Regions from separate parts of the Homo sapiens genome. Here region 1 is linked to region 2. Evidence: promoter capture Hi-C in human tissues and cell types (Jung and others, 2019). All regions are on one chromosome and are shown on one strand. Each heading gives the region's core, a stretch centred on a gene start or on the middle of the fragment in contact. The rest is flanking DNA. Distances are from core to core; before and after follow the strand shown. Region 1 overlaps LOC105374292 (a long non-coding RNA gene). Region 2 holds the start of FAM43A (family with sequence similarity 43 member A).

The links. Contacts are between HindIII fragments. The study calls those that stand out against the background at their distance.
Region 1: a contact is called between a fragment that was not itself captured here and the fragment with the promoter of FAM43A in region 2, in 1 of the 25 tissues and cell types used here (H1 embryonic stem cells).

The regions. Positions count from the first base shown.
Region 1 is chr3:194,817,353-194,823,662 of GRCh38, reverse strand. It overlaps LOC105374292 (a long non-coding RNA gene), which reads right to left. Exons shown (of 6, transcript XR_001741084.2): 4 at 2,932-3,102; 5 at 1,766-2,009. Among named protein-coding and RNA genes, the nearest start is that of LINC01972, 52 kb to the right of the region's middle. The HindIII fragment of the contact is 3,543 bases long and covers 2,506-6,048 here.
Region 2 is chr3:194,681,118-194,687,246 of GRCh38, reverse strand. FAM43A (family with sequence similarity 43 member A) reads right to left here and starts at 1,364. Exons shown (of 1, transcript NM_153690.5): 1 at 1-1,364. The coding sequence starts at 420. LOC124909474 reads left to right here and starts at 338. Exons shown (of 3, transcript XM_047449428.1): 1 at 338-1,387; 2 at 1,829-1,909. The coding sequence starts at 994. RefSeq lists enhancers at 1-17, 18-523, 1,275-1,634, 4,320-4,369 and a silencer at 345-534. The HindIII fragment of the contact is 10,115 bases long and covers 1-5,673 here.

The DNA of each region.
Region 1 (6,310 bases), core at 3,028-5,527, 130 kb before region 2:
AAAAGGTAGGATGAAAACAAGCGACAGGGCTTAGACCAGTTGGATACGTAGGGCAGGAGAAAAGAAGAGTCCAGGGTACCAGGGTTGGGCCTGAGTGACTGTGAACAGATGAACGCCATCCACAGAGTGAGGGCACACGGGGCAGAAGCAGGTGCAGGCAAGGGCAAGCTTGCTTTGCGTCTGTCATAGTGGGGGCAGGGCACGTGGCTATCTAAGCAGCACTGATAAGCAGGAAGTCAGGTATACAGTTGTGGGGCTCAGGAAGAAATCAGGCTTGCATCAAACCTTTTGGAAGGTGGTAAGGAGTTGAAGAAGCCTCTAGAACAATGGGTCTCAACCTTCTCTCATCAAAATCAACTGGACAGCTTAAAAAAAAAATACTGATATCTGGGTCCCATTCCCAGACATTCTGATGTGATTACTGTATTTCTGTATAATGGGCCCTGGCATTGGTATATTTTTAGTGATCCCAGGTGCTCCTTCTGATGTGTAGCCAGGGATGGAAACACTGCCACGGAGACACAATGATGGAGCAGAGATGAGGCAGGCCTGTGGTGCACACCAACATGGAAGGGCCAGGGAGGGAAGAGAGCCCCAAATCAGTCTGGCCTTCAGGGCGGAGGGCACCAAGAGAGAGCATTATCCTGGAGCAGCAGGAGTGGGACGTCAGGAAAGCGGTCCTGAGAGCAGCATTGGATGCTGCAGGAAGAACCAGGCCGTGGGAAGACTGAGGAGTGCCTCTGGCGTTTAGCATCTAGGAGTCTGTCAAGGTGACCCGGGCCAGGACAGGTTCCAGGTTGGGGGAAGGCAGCTGATGAGGGTTGCAGACTAGACCAGACTTCAAGGAGAGTGGAAGGGGAGTAAGTGAAGACGCCAAACGAGAAGCACTCTTTTAGGAAACTTGGCCATGAATAGAAGCGGAGAAAAGAAGAGGAAAAGGAGGTATGATTGGACAGATTTGAGGACGCTTCTCTTCCAAGCATGAAGAAGCAAGAGGGGTAAGTGGACAAGGCCTTGAATGACGGGCAAAGTGAAGTTCGTAGAGGGTGGTCCTGAGGAAGCTGAGGGACCTGGGTTTCAGGGCTCAGTGCAGAGATCACCCCAGGAGGTGGGCTGCTTTCCCCCCAGGGGGCTAGGACCTGAGATCGTGTCACCTGCCCTCCGTACAGCCCTGCACCTGCATCTGTGCCGTGGAGTGTGTTGATGGGTGGGCAGGCGCTGCTCTTTCCCCTGACCTGCAGCCCCACAGCTAGCCCTCTTTCTCATGCCAGCCTTCCGTGTCCTGGCCCTGCTGCTGGAGCTGCACATGCCAGGCTCTGCCTAAATGCAGATGACTCCACCAACTTTTGCTCCACTCCTCACCCCCAGAACTGTTGTTGTTGTTGTTTACCAACTATGAAGGACCCACCACAGGTAGAGAACCGAGTACTTTGCACACTTGGAGCCCCTGCTTTCAAGACCTCCACAGCCTACTTATCTAATAGTCATTGCATGAATTCCTACATATGTACATGTATAAACATGAAAGCAATGGCGAAAATGCATTTCCAATCATACATATGCCTAATTGTGCACGCTCACCGCAGGATAGACACAAACGCCTCCAATGGGCACACGTATGTCACCAAGACCTCCCCGCAGGACCCTGCTTGGCTACTCTGAGAGCGGCTCTCATGGCCTGGAAAGAAGCCCACATTGACACAGGCCCAAGACCACCCGCCTTTCCCAACACATTCACTCGAGTTTAGGAAAGGCCATGACTCACCTCCAGTTACTGAACCCCGAGCCTTTCCGACATGTGGTCAAAGGGAAAGAAATTGGCCTCTGCATTTTGGAATTTATGCATCATGGAGCTCAGTTTTTGTTTTCCCAGTAAATGGCTTCTCGAAGATAACAGGAGGAGGTGTCTTTCCAATGCTCACCCTCTTTCCCAGTTTTGCTCCAGAAACATCTGGCGCCATCAGTGACTCAGTTTCAACTTGCAGTTTTAATTTCTTCATTTACAAGAGCTATAAAAGAATAGCCAGCAAAGCAGTCACTCCAGTATTTTTAAACTTACACCACTGATGCTTTTGTCTACTAACGAGTGTTATTGAGTATTTGCAAAAAAAAAAAAAATCCAAACTCAGTACCTATTTCAATACATTCTTAACTCAGTACAATTCAATACATTCTTAACTCAGTACGTTCCAATACATTCTTAACTCAATACATTTCAATACCTTCTTAAGGAAAAATTTCTGACATGTGAATTGCTCTCTTTAAGTAAAAAATGTTCTTAATTCTGAATTCTAGGTAAAAATAAGTATGAGGATGACAGTAATAGGCTATTCTGAGATAAAACTTTTTTTTCCCACCCCACGTTAGGCCTTGGTTGAGAAAGTGATACTGTCCCTCCTGTCTTCGAGGGACAGTGAGAAGGAGCCATGTTCATGCTATCAATAGCAAAGCACCCACTCACACGCAGAGACACTGTACAATGGTGTATTAAAATGGTAAACTTGAGCCATCTTAGCTCGAGACCAGATTTCTTAGAGAGTGTGGGCCCCTGGACCCTGTATGCATCAGCCCTACAAAGGCCATTTGAGTCCCCCACCCCACCCCACCCTCTGCTTCCCTCAACCACAGATACCATCCCTGACCCTGGCAAGCCCCCTGCAGTATAGACTGTTCCAGGCCTCCAGGCTGCCATTTTTTCTTCTTCCGTGACTCTTCTGACCCTGATTGTTTGGACAATGTGGGGAGGATTCTCTCCCTTAGGATAAAGAATGGGAGCCCAGTGGGGTTACCACTTCCTATCTTAGAAGGGCATCTGGAAACAGATATTTCTAGAACTGTGGAATCTTCTTGGGGGGCAGGTTGACCTCTTGGGAACCCAGAGGGAGAGAAGATAGCAGGTTTCAACTCATCACTAGCAAGAATAGTACTTACAGGTGCCTTGGAAGGTGGTGAGTTCCCCATGCTGGGGAGACTCAAGCAGAAGCTGTAGGGTTGTTTGTCAGGGATGTCCCGCAGGGGCTGCTCTTCATCAGGACTTTGTGGCCATTCCTGCACCGTGTGAGGTGAAGCCCGGTCCAGCCTCCCCTCCTCTCCATGGTTCTCCTTTGCATTGCACAGACAGGACTCACTCAAGACTCTCCAAAACTCTCAACACTGAGCAAACTTAGCTGTCCTCCTCCTCCCTGTCTAGCCTGTGACCACAGCTCAAAAAGTGACTGGAGCCCTCTCCGGTGCTGAGTTACAAACTGATGTCCTGGCTTTGAGCATATGAAAGGGGTATGAATAGCTTTATTTTACTAACAAGGAAGCAGAGTTTACAGAGGTGATGTAGCTAGCTGGTCCGTGGAAGTTTGGCCCAGGCTCCTGACCATTGGCCACAGTGATTTTTTAAATGCATTCTTAGGTAAGGCAAAGAGCAATGTACATAATCATTCCACCTAATGTAACCTGTTTGTAAACCAAGTTTTTCTTTTTTTTTTCTTTTCTTTTTTTCTTTTTTTGAGACATTGTCTCATTGTCACCCATGCTAGAGCACAGTGGTGCAATCAGAGGTCACTGCATGAGTCTTCACCCACCAGGCTCAAGCAATTCTCCCACCTCAGCCTTCTGAGTAGCTGGGACTACAGCGCGTGCCACCATGCCCATATCCCACTAATTTTTATGGTTTTTGTAGAGGTGGGGTTTTGTTGTTGCCCAGGCTGGCCTCGAACTCATGGGCTTCAGCAATCTGCCTGCCTCAGCCTCCCAAAGTGCTGGGATTACAGGCATGAGCCACCGCACCCGGCCTTTACGGGCGTGAGCCACCACACAGCCTAAACCACATTTTTGAGCACATTTCCCTAAAATGCTATTTAATGACATGGTTTCATCCCCATTTCCCATCCACAGGATTTTTGGTTTCTCGCATTCTTTACTTCCATTATAGGACATGTCGACGAGGGATTACCAGACTTCTGGGAGCTGTACTACCTGATAGTTGCCTGTTGGATTTTGTAATCCATCCTCCCACCCCTTCCTGGGGGCATTCTGTGGAGGACAGTGAGGCCCACATGTACACCTGCATGCTGAGCAGATTAAAACTCGTCCTGTTTCCACACATCGCATGAGATCTGGGGGGAACAAGAAACATTCTGGGTGGTTTTGGATCTTACATCTCGGGTCAGGGATCTAGAAGTAATCCAGGTTGGACAGGCAGGAGCTGTCAGATCCAGATTGGACAGGTGGGAGCTGTCAGGAGAGGCTGTGTCTCATTAGCTCTCAGGCATCAGCGCTCTCAGAACCAGTCCAGAACAGAACAGCAAAACCCAAAAGATCTGGCATGGGAGAGGCAGAACCACCTGCAGGGAAATCTTATTTGTTTTATTTTTATTTTGTTATTTTTTTTTTGAGACAGAGTCTCGCTCTGTCACCCAGGCTGGAGTGCAGTGGTACGATCTCGGCTCACTGCAGCCTCCACTTCCCGGGTTCAAGCGATTCTCCTGCCTCAGCCTCCTGAGTAGCTGGGATTACAGACGCCTGCCACCACGCCAGGCTAATTTTTGTATTTTTAGAAGAGACAGGGTTTCACCATGTTGACCAGGCTGGTCTCGAACTCCTGACCTCAGATGATCCACCCACCTCGGCCTCCCAAAGTGCTGGGATTACAGGCGTGAGCCACGGCGCCTGGCCGGGAAATCCTCTTAACTCAAGGGACATGGAATGCCCCAAAAATACCCCTTGGTGATGATGAGCTTACTGTTTAAAAAAACCAGACAACTAGGCAAGGAAATGAACCTCAGTCTTAGAGCGTCGGCAGCCACAACACAGAAAGGATAACCTGGAAGAGGCTTTACATAAGTAAGCTTAGGAGAGTGAACTTTACATAAGTAAGATTAGGAGAGTGAACGGGGGTGAGAAAAGGGGCCTGGCGAGTGCAGCCAATGTGGTCGGAAAGTTTTACTGTGAAGAGGACAGAGCCAGCAGAAGCTGGTCAGAGATGGGAGAGGATGGGGAACTGTGTGTTACAGGAATGACCAAGACCGGAGACAGGGAGAGAGTGGAGCTGAAACCTAGAGTGGGTGAGGAGAGGGGAGAGGGCTTCGAGTGGGAGGTGAGGGGGTCTCTGTGGGCAGGGGGAAGGCTGCTTGTCCATCAGAGCCCGAGGGAAGAAGCTGGTGCAGATGGAGGGACGGTTCCAGCACTGGGAGAAGGACGACGAGGCTGGTTCTCCCTGATGGCTGCTATTAAAGACATGAGACAAGGTTCCCTGGTGAAAGTGACAGGGTTTAAGGAGAAAGGGTAAAGTATGCAATTATTCCCTTGCAGAGGGGGACAGCAAGCTTTCCAGAAGAACTCTGAAGGGTCTTTGGGCAGCACGGAGGTGTGTGATTTTGAGTGCAACAGAGGAGGCTTGGCAAGAGAATTGAGGGCATTTTCAGGCAGAGAGTGATGACATCAGCTTATTGCATGTGAATGCCCAGAGAACAAGCCACACACTTCGTCAGAGGACCCCCAGATGCCAGTCTCTCAAGGTCGGTTCTTGTCATCTGTTCAGTTTCTCTAGAGAGGCAGAGCCCAGTCTCCCGGGGGGCACGTGCTTGGCTGCAGGTGCTCCTTGGCAGGGTAGGGAGAGGGGCAGAGTCTTACTATCCATTATGTAGATTTCACTGAATCCTCTTGTTTGCAGCCTGTGCGGCACCCCACTACCCTCCATTGATCCTAGTGGCCCTCAAGTCAAAGTCCCTTCTGTTAAACTTATTTAGAAAGTGAATCTCCATTCTCCTGCTGGCTCTGGTGGGAAAGGGCTGGGGAGAGAAGGAGTGTGAGTCTCTGTGTGAGGCGGGGTAAGGAGCACGCACGATCGACCCACAGTCAGACTTGGAAACAGTGCCCCTCTTCTCCTGTCTGAGGTACATCCTGACCTCTGCAGGTTGGGCAAGAGGCTAGTTCAGGCCACAGAGGTGGCTCCCAGCCATTTGATCCAGAAATTCTGTCATCCCATGTGTCTGTGTCATGGTCTGGAAGAGGCTGCAGGGGCTGCTGCTGGCATGGCCCCTGACCCTGTGGATTTCCCCACCTGGAGCTGGAGTAAGGCCTACACTGGGGCCATCTGAAGTGCAGGGTTGAGGCAGAGACTTGGACTGCCCAGCTGTATGGGAGATTCTGCACCTAACGTTCAGTTGACTGGAAGACTAGGAACAACTCACTTTCCGTGTTTATTCTGCGCTTATAAAATGGGAACTGCTCATTCAGACAGGGAACAGGGATGCAGCTTTGTTCCCTAATCCAGATCACAAAACAGATTAAGACAGTCCTGGAGAGTTCCACCTTC
Region 2 (6,129 bases), core at 115-2,614:
GACGCGGTGCAGCAGGTAGAGGTGGCCCGGGCGGCGCAGCGCGCGCTCCTCGGCGTGCACCATGCGGATACCCTGCGCACTCACCGTCAGCTTCATCTTGGTGCCCTGACGGCCCGCCTCGCTCTTGCTCCAGATCTTGCCCACAGCAAGGTCGGTGCAGCCGTCGCCGCGCGCCTGGATGGTGGTGGCATTGCCCAGGTAGAGCACGGTGTAAGTTGGGTCCTCGCTAGTGATGTGCAGCTTCTTGCGCTTGGAGCGGAACATGCTGCCCACCCGGCTAAGCGCGCCTTCGGGGCACGCCCGCGCCAGCGAGCTGAGCGCCGAGTAGTGCAGGCTCACAGCGTAGCCCTTGGGCTTGGACGCCTGCCGCGGCGGCGCCTCGGCCAGCAGCTCGAACTTGTGCTTCTTCCACGGCAGCATCTCCGGAGGGCGCCCCGGCGCAGCTGGGCGGCGGCGGCGGCGGAGCGCCGGGTGCGAGGCCCGCTGAGCCACCGGCCCCTGCCAGGCTCGGCCCGGGCAAGATCGAAGAATAAAACTACTGGGAGCGGCCCTGTGGTAGGGAGTTGGGGGGAGGGGAGCAGAGAGAGTGCTTAGGAACCCCGCAGGAGGTGCGGGTAAATTCTCTAAAAAAGAAAATATTCAGCTTCGAGTGTGCAAAAAAGGTTGGTGCGGGGGAGACACGCGCGCACACAGAATTACCCCAGCCTGGGCAAGGGCGAGAGCAAAGAGTCTCAGGCAAGCAACAAAATGCAAGGGAGAAAGAACGAGCGTAGAGTGGAAAATGTCAGGAAAAAAGCTAGAAGCGCGCGTGCAAATAAAGAGAGCCCCAGCAACAGCACCCGGGATGGTGCAAGAATATGCAGGAACTCCTCGGCGAACGTGAGGTGGGTCCCCTAACACACACAACCCTCAGGACTGGGGCCAAAACCCGCGGAAACTCTACAGCGAGTGTGCCTAGGGGCCGGTGCTCCCCACCTCCGAGGGGTGCTGGAGATGGAAAGCCCCCCGTTTGGGCTGGTCTCAAGTCAGCAGCTCGCCCAAAGTGCGGTCGGATGCTGGGTCCGGCTGGCCGCGGCGGGCCCCGCGCAGCAGTCCCGCGGGGACTCACTGCATCTTCGCTCCGCCGGACGCCGGGGACTCGCGCTCGGCCCGCTCAGTGTCCGGGCTGGCCTGGCCGAGACGGCGCTGGGCTCCGAGAACAGGGGACGGGCATGGCCGGGTCCGGGAACCGCCGCTACCTCATTTCTTCCCTCCGAGGCGGTGTCCAGCTCCGCTCCCGGGCTCTCCACGGTCTGCTGCCCGCCTTTGCAGTGCGCCCTCTCCGGTGCTGCGAGCGGCGTCCGGCTCGCCTGCCTCACATCCTTGCCGTCCGGGAGGAAGATCTCGGGTAAATATAGGCCGGCGCGAACCATTCGCCGCGCGGGGACAGGGGAGGAGCAGAGAAGAGGATCTGTTTTGGGCTCCGACTCCGGGCGGATTCCTGGTTTCTTAAAGGGACCGCGTGACAGCCATTGGTCGAGGGAGCGGGGAGACCGGTCCAATCCTCCAATTACATCCCAAATTTACCAGCATCTCTTTTGTCTATGGAAATCACTGGGACCTGGGGTTACCCCGCAGCAAAAAGATTTGAATCCTGACACTCCACCCCCCAGGCTGAATTGCCACTCACTGAATACATGTATGTCTAGATCGAAACTTCTGAGGGAGGTGGCAGAAGATGAGATTACAGATTATAATTTCCTGTACAAAAAGTTTGGGAAAATAGTGGTTTCTTCCTTGTGTGACGGCTTTCTGAGAATGACTGGGTGCTGTTTAATATTATTTTCAGAATTGTATTCCATTAAAGAAAAGAGAGAGGCACAGAAAACACCAAGGCTTATCTCTCACTATCTTGAGCTCGTATTCACAGGTAAGCAGCAGACAGTGTAAAGTGAGGTGAGTGGTAACATGATTGGGGTGACTACTGTAGAATACCGTCAATGAATAAGGCTTTTCCCCGTCCGAACCCCGGCAAGACCCCCTCCTGCTGTCAGGCCTCAGGGTAGAGCAGTTTTCTGAGATACACACAATTTCTAATGCTCGTGTGTCGTTAGGACTTAGTTTACTTTGGCAAGCCGGTCATGCGGTTTCATTCTATCATTGACATATTTTGGATGAGAATTCCTAGTAAAAATTCAAATGACGTTTTTTATTTAAGTGACAAATAATGCCAGGCCACCCTCCAATGGGAGTGATAATTGCATCAGTATTGCTTTTATCATGTGCCAACTGGACAGTGTAGTTGTCTTCTGACCGGCTTGACCCTTAGCCAGTAACTCATTTCTGGGCCCTTGAAACAGCCTGCTTGCCTCTATGGTATGGTCAGTCAAAGCAAAAAGACGTATGGCTGGAGTGGGATCAATGTCCGAATGATCCTGCATCAAACTCCCAGCCTGGTCCTGGAGGAGGACAGTGATCCCTTCCCACCATCCCAGTCCCCTGGGGATCTTTGATGTCTCTGGCTTCCACGCCAGGTCTTCATGCCAGAGTCACTGCAACCATACCTGGAAATTCCCTTGGGATATTCCAACAAAATAAAACTGACCCCTGCCCACCCTCTACCTTTGCCAACTTTTAACCTTCCTTTGAAATCTAACTCAATTTTCTCAGAGTCGTTGATGCTGAGTTTCCATTTAAGTTACTTTGCTGAGTTTCCATTTAAGTTACTTTTCTGACTACCTTTTGGTGCCCGGCCCTGAGCTAGGAGCAGACGGGATTCCTGCCTCCTAGTCCAATGAAGGTTGTAAACTCTACCCAACTCTGGGTTTCCACTGGACTGTGGGTTCTCTGCAAGTACCCTGTATCCCCAATATGGTACAAATAGGCACTCAGTAACTAGAATTAATGAGCAAGATATGCATGTGGACAAGAAGACAGAGTGGGCTAAATGCTATGAGAAAGACTCAAAGCACTATGAGAAGCTGGAGGAAGAAAGCATTCATTGTGACTAGGAAAATCAGAAAAGGCTTCATGGAGGTGGTGACCTTTGAAAGATAAACAGAATTTATCCAAATAGGAAAAGACTGAAGGGCTTTATGGGTATAGAGGGTAGCAAAATTACAGAAGCATGAAAATGCATGCATAAGGCCAGGCGCGGTGGCTCACGCCTGTAATCCCAGCATTTTGGGAGGCTGAGGCGGGTGGATCACTTGAGGTCAGGAGTTCAAGACCAGCCTGGCCAACATGGCAAAACTCTATCTCTACTAAAAATACAAAAATTAGCTGGGCATGGTGGTGCACGCCTGTAATTCCAGCTACTTGGGAAGTTGAGGCAGGAGAATCCCTTGAACCCGGGAGGCGGAGGTTGCAGTAAGCCGAGATCGCGCCACTGCACTCCAGCCTGGATGACACAGTGAGACCGTCTCAAAAAAAAAGAAAGAAAGAAAGAAAGAAAATGCATACACATGTAGTAATTAAGATGGAGCTTGTAACAATCAAAGAATAAACCTTCCTGATTGTGTTTTTTGGCTCTCTTACACTCCAAGGGAAGGAATGGCCTCTTCATGGCTAACTGGCCCCACAGGGTCCTTCAACCAGAGCTATAATGCCTTACTCCTCAGCTGCACTGATGGGTTAATGGAGGGATACCAGACATGCTGTTGGAATGAGGTAGTTAGTACTATAATAAGCCATTTAAGGCAACATTAATTCCTTAAATTTCTAGGCTATCTTGTAGTGGCAATGAAGGAGATAGCACACGCTCTAAAGAACAAAAACTCTGGTAAAAACATATCAAATGAGGCTGTGTTCAGTGACCTTTAGTAGGTCCATAATCTTGAACTCCACAAAAGCAGACATCATGTTTAAGCAGTGATCATTTCCAAATCGCTCAAAGTTCCAAGGCTCAAGAGGGTTTGGGGAAGAGGAAGAGGGAGTAGTAGCAGGAGCTAAGGCTGGTCTCAGCCTCAGCGAGAGGCACCACTTTGCACTTCATGCAGTGGCATGGACCCCAGTGGCCCACAGAGGCAGGGAGGAGTCTACTGGTGGGCCGGGCTGTTCAGCAGCAGCCGGAGTGCCAGTCCCAGCGGCACAGGCCCACAGAGCTGCTCCTGTTGACGAGGCTATGTCACGCCTTGACCGCCTTCCTAATAAGCTTGTTTCCAACCTTGGGAGAACAGAAAGGTTCTAGGCCAGTGTGAACACCCTGGTGTGAGTCATGCCCTGGAGGAGAACCCGCGGTCCCCTTGTGGCCTGGACCTGTGCCAGCCTCTAGGGCCCGCCTCACCTTATGGAGAAGCTGACCACCCCACCTGAAGCACACATCACAATTAAGGCTGCGTTTCTTCAGCTGGGAGAGCTGGCAGCACCATGTGGGAGTCCACATCACAGATCTGAGACAGGGCAACTCCAGAACAGACTGTCAGCAAAGTGGAGCTGGGAAACAGGTTAGAAACTGCAGTGTACTTTTTTAATGACACTGCCCCCATCTACTGGTAGCAGGCAGAAATGCTGCTCGGTGGATGGTTTCTCGTCAAACCAGATAAGCTAGTGGTTGAAACTACACACAACCGGGTCGCAGTTGGAAGGAAATGCTGCCATCAGGAGTCCCAGCCCTAAACTTGACATCCAGGAGTAAGCCTTTCATCTCACAGAGGATTTGGACCAGCTTCCTCCCACCTTACGTCTTACATAATGCTCCTTCCTCTCGCCCCTCCTCCAACATCCTACTCAGTGGACATTGACTTCAGAGATGACACATGACGAATCTGGAATCTTCAATGTCATCTAGTAAATACTTGTGGAGAGTCTCCCATGAATGTCACATAGTTGCTGGGGATATAGCACTAAAGAGGACAGATAGAGAGGTCTTTGCCTGCATGGGATTTATAGCCTCTGGTGGAGGCAGGAGGGCAGACAGTAAACAAAAAACTAATGAAATAGCAGATAGTGAAAAGTCTCTGGAGAAAAGGAGGCAGTGCTAGGAGTGAGAGGTGGCTGGTTTAGACAGCATGGCCAGGGAAGGTGGCTCTGGGCAGAGACAGGAATGAGATGAACCTGCAAAGAGATGGGGGAGAGCATTGCAGCCTGTGCGGCCCAGTACGCAGTCACCAGCCACAGGCTGCTGCTGCCACTTGAACCATAGCTGGCCCAAATTTAGACGCACTACGAGTATGAACTACACACTGGATTTTCAGGACTTAGTAAAACAAAAAGAATGCAAAAAATCTTCATAATGTTATATTCATTATATATTGAATGATAGTATTTTGGCTATGTTGATTTAAATAAATTATTCAGATTAATTTTACCTATTTCTCTAGCCTGGTCAACATGGTGAAACCCCGTCTCTACTAAAAATACAAACATTAGCTAGGCATAGTGGTGCATGCCTATAATACCAGCTATTCGGGAGGCTGAGGCAGGAGAATCACTTGAACCTGGGAGGCAGAAGTTGCAGTGAGCCGAGATTGTGCCACTGCGCTCCTGCCTGGGCGACAGAGCGAGAGTCTGTCTCAAAAAACAACAACAACAACAAAAACTTACCTATTTCTTTTTGCTTCTTTAAGGTGGCTATCAGACACCTTGGTTTTAGCCCAGTGAGGCCCGTGTTGGGTTCTAACCTGCAGCGCTGTGAATTTGTGTTGATTTAGGCCACTACGTTCGTGGCAGTTTGTTCCAGCAGCAGTACACCTCCCATCCAGCCATCTTTTCCCTTATCCTGACTCTCTTCCCTCTCCCACTCTCCTCAACACATACGCTAAGTCCTCACTAGTTTCCCAAAGCCACTGGCTCCCCCAGAGCTCAGCAGAACTGACCGGGTGCTTCCCCCACAAAAACGAGGCAGTTAGAGCAACCTCCAGCCCCTGCCAACCTACAAAAAGCACGTCCACACCCAAGCCCACCTCCCTCCTCCAGGCTCCGAAGTCTCTCCTCCCTTCAACCTGCCCCTCTGAAAGCCACCTTCAATACTTACCAAACCACACCTCTGACCTTTTCTCTCTTCCCCTTTTAACCTTCAAAATGGCTTCCCATCAGCCACACGGTACACTCCCACTCCTCAGTATAACACATGAGAATGTTCAGGTCTGGCACCTGCCTATGTCTCCAACCTCATTCTTTTCTCCTGGACTCCTAATTTATGAACCAGCC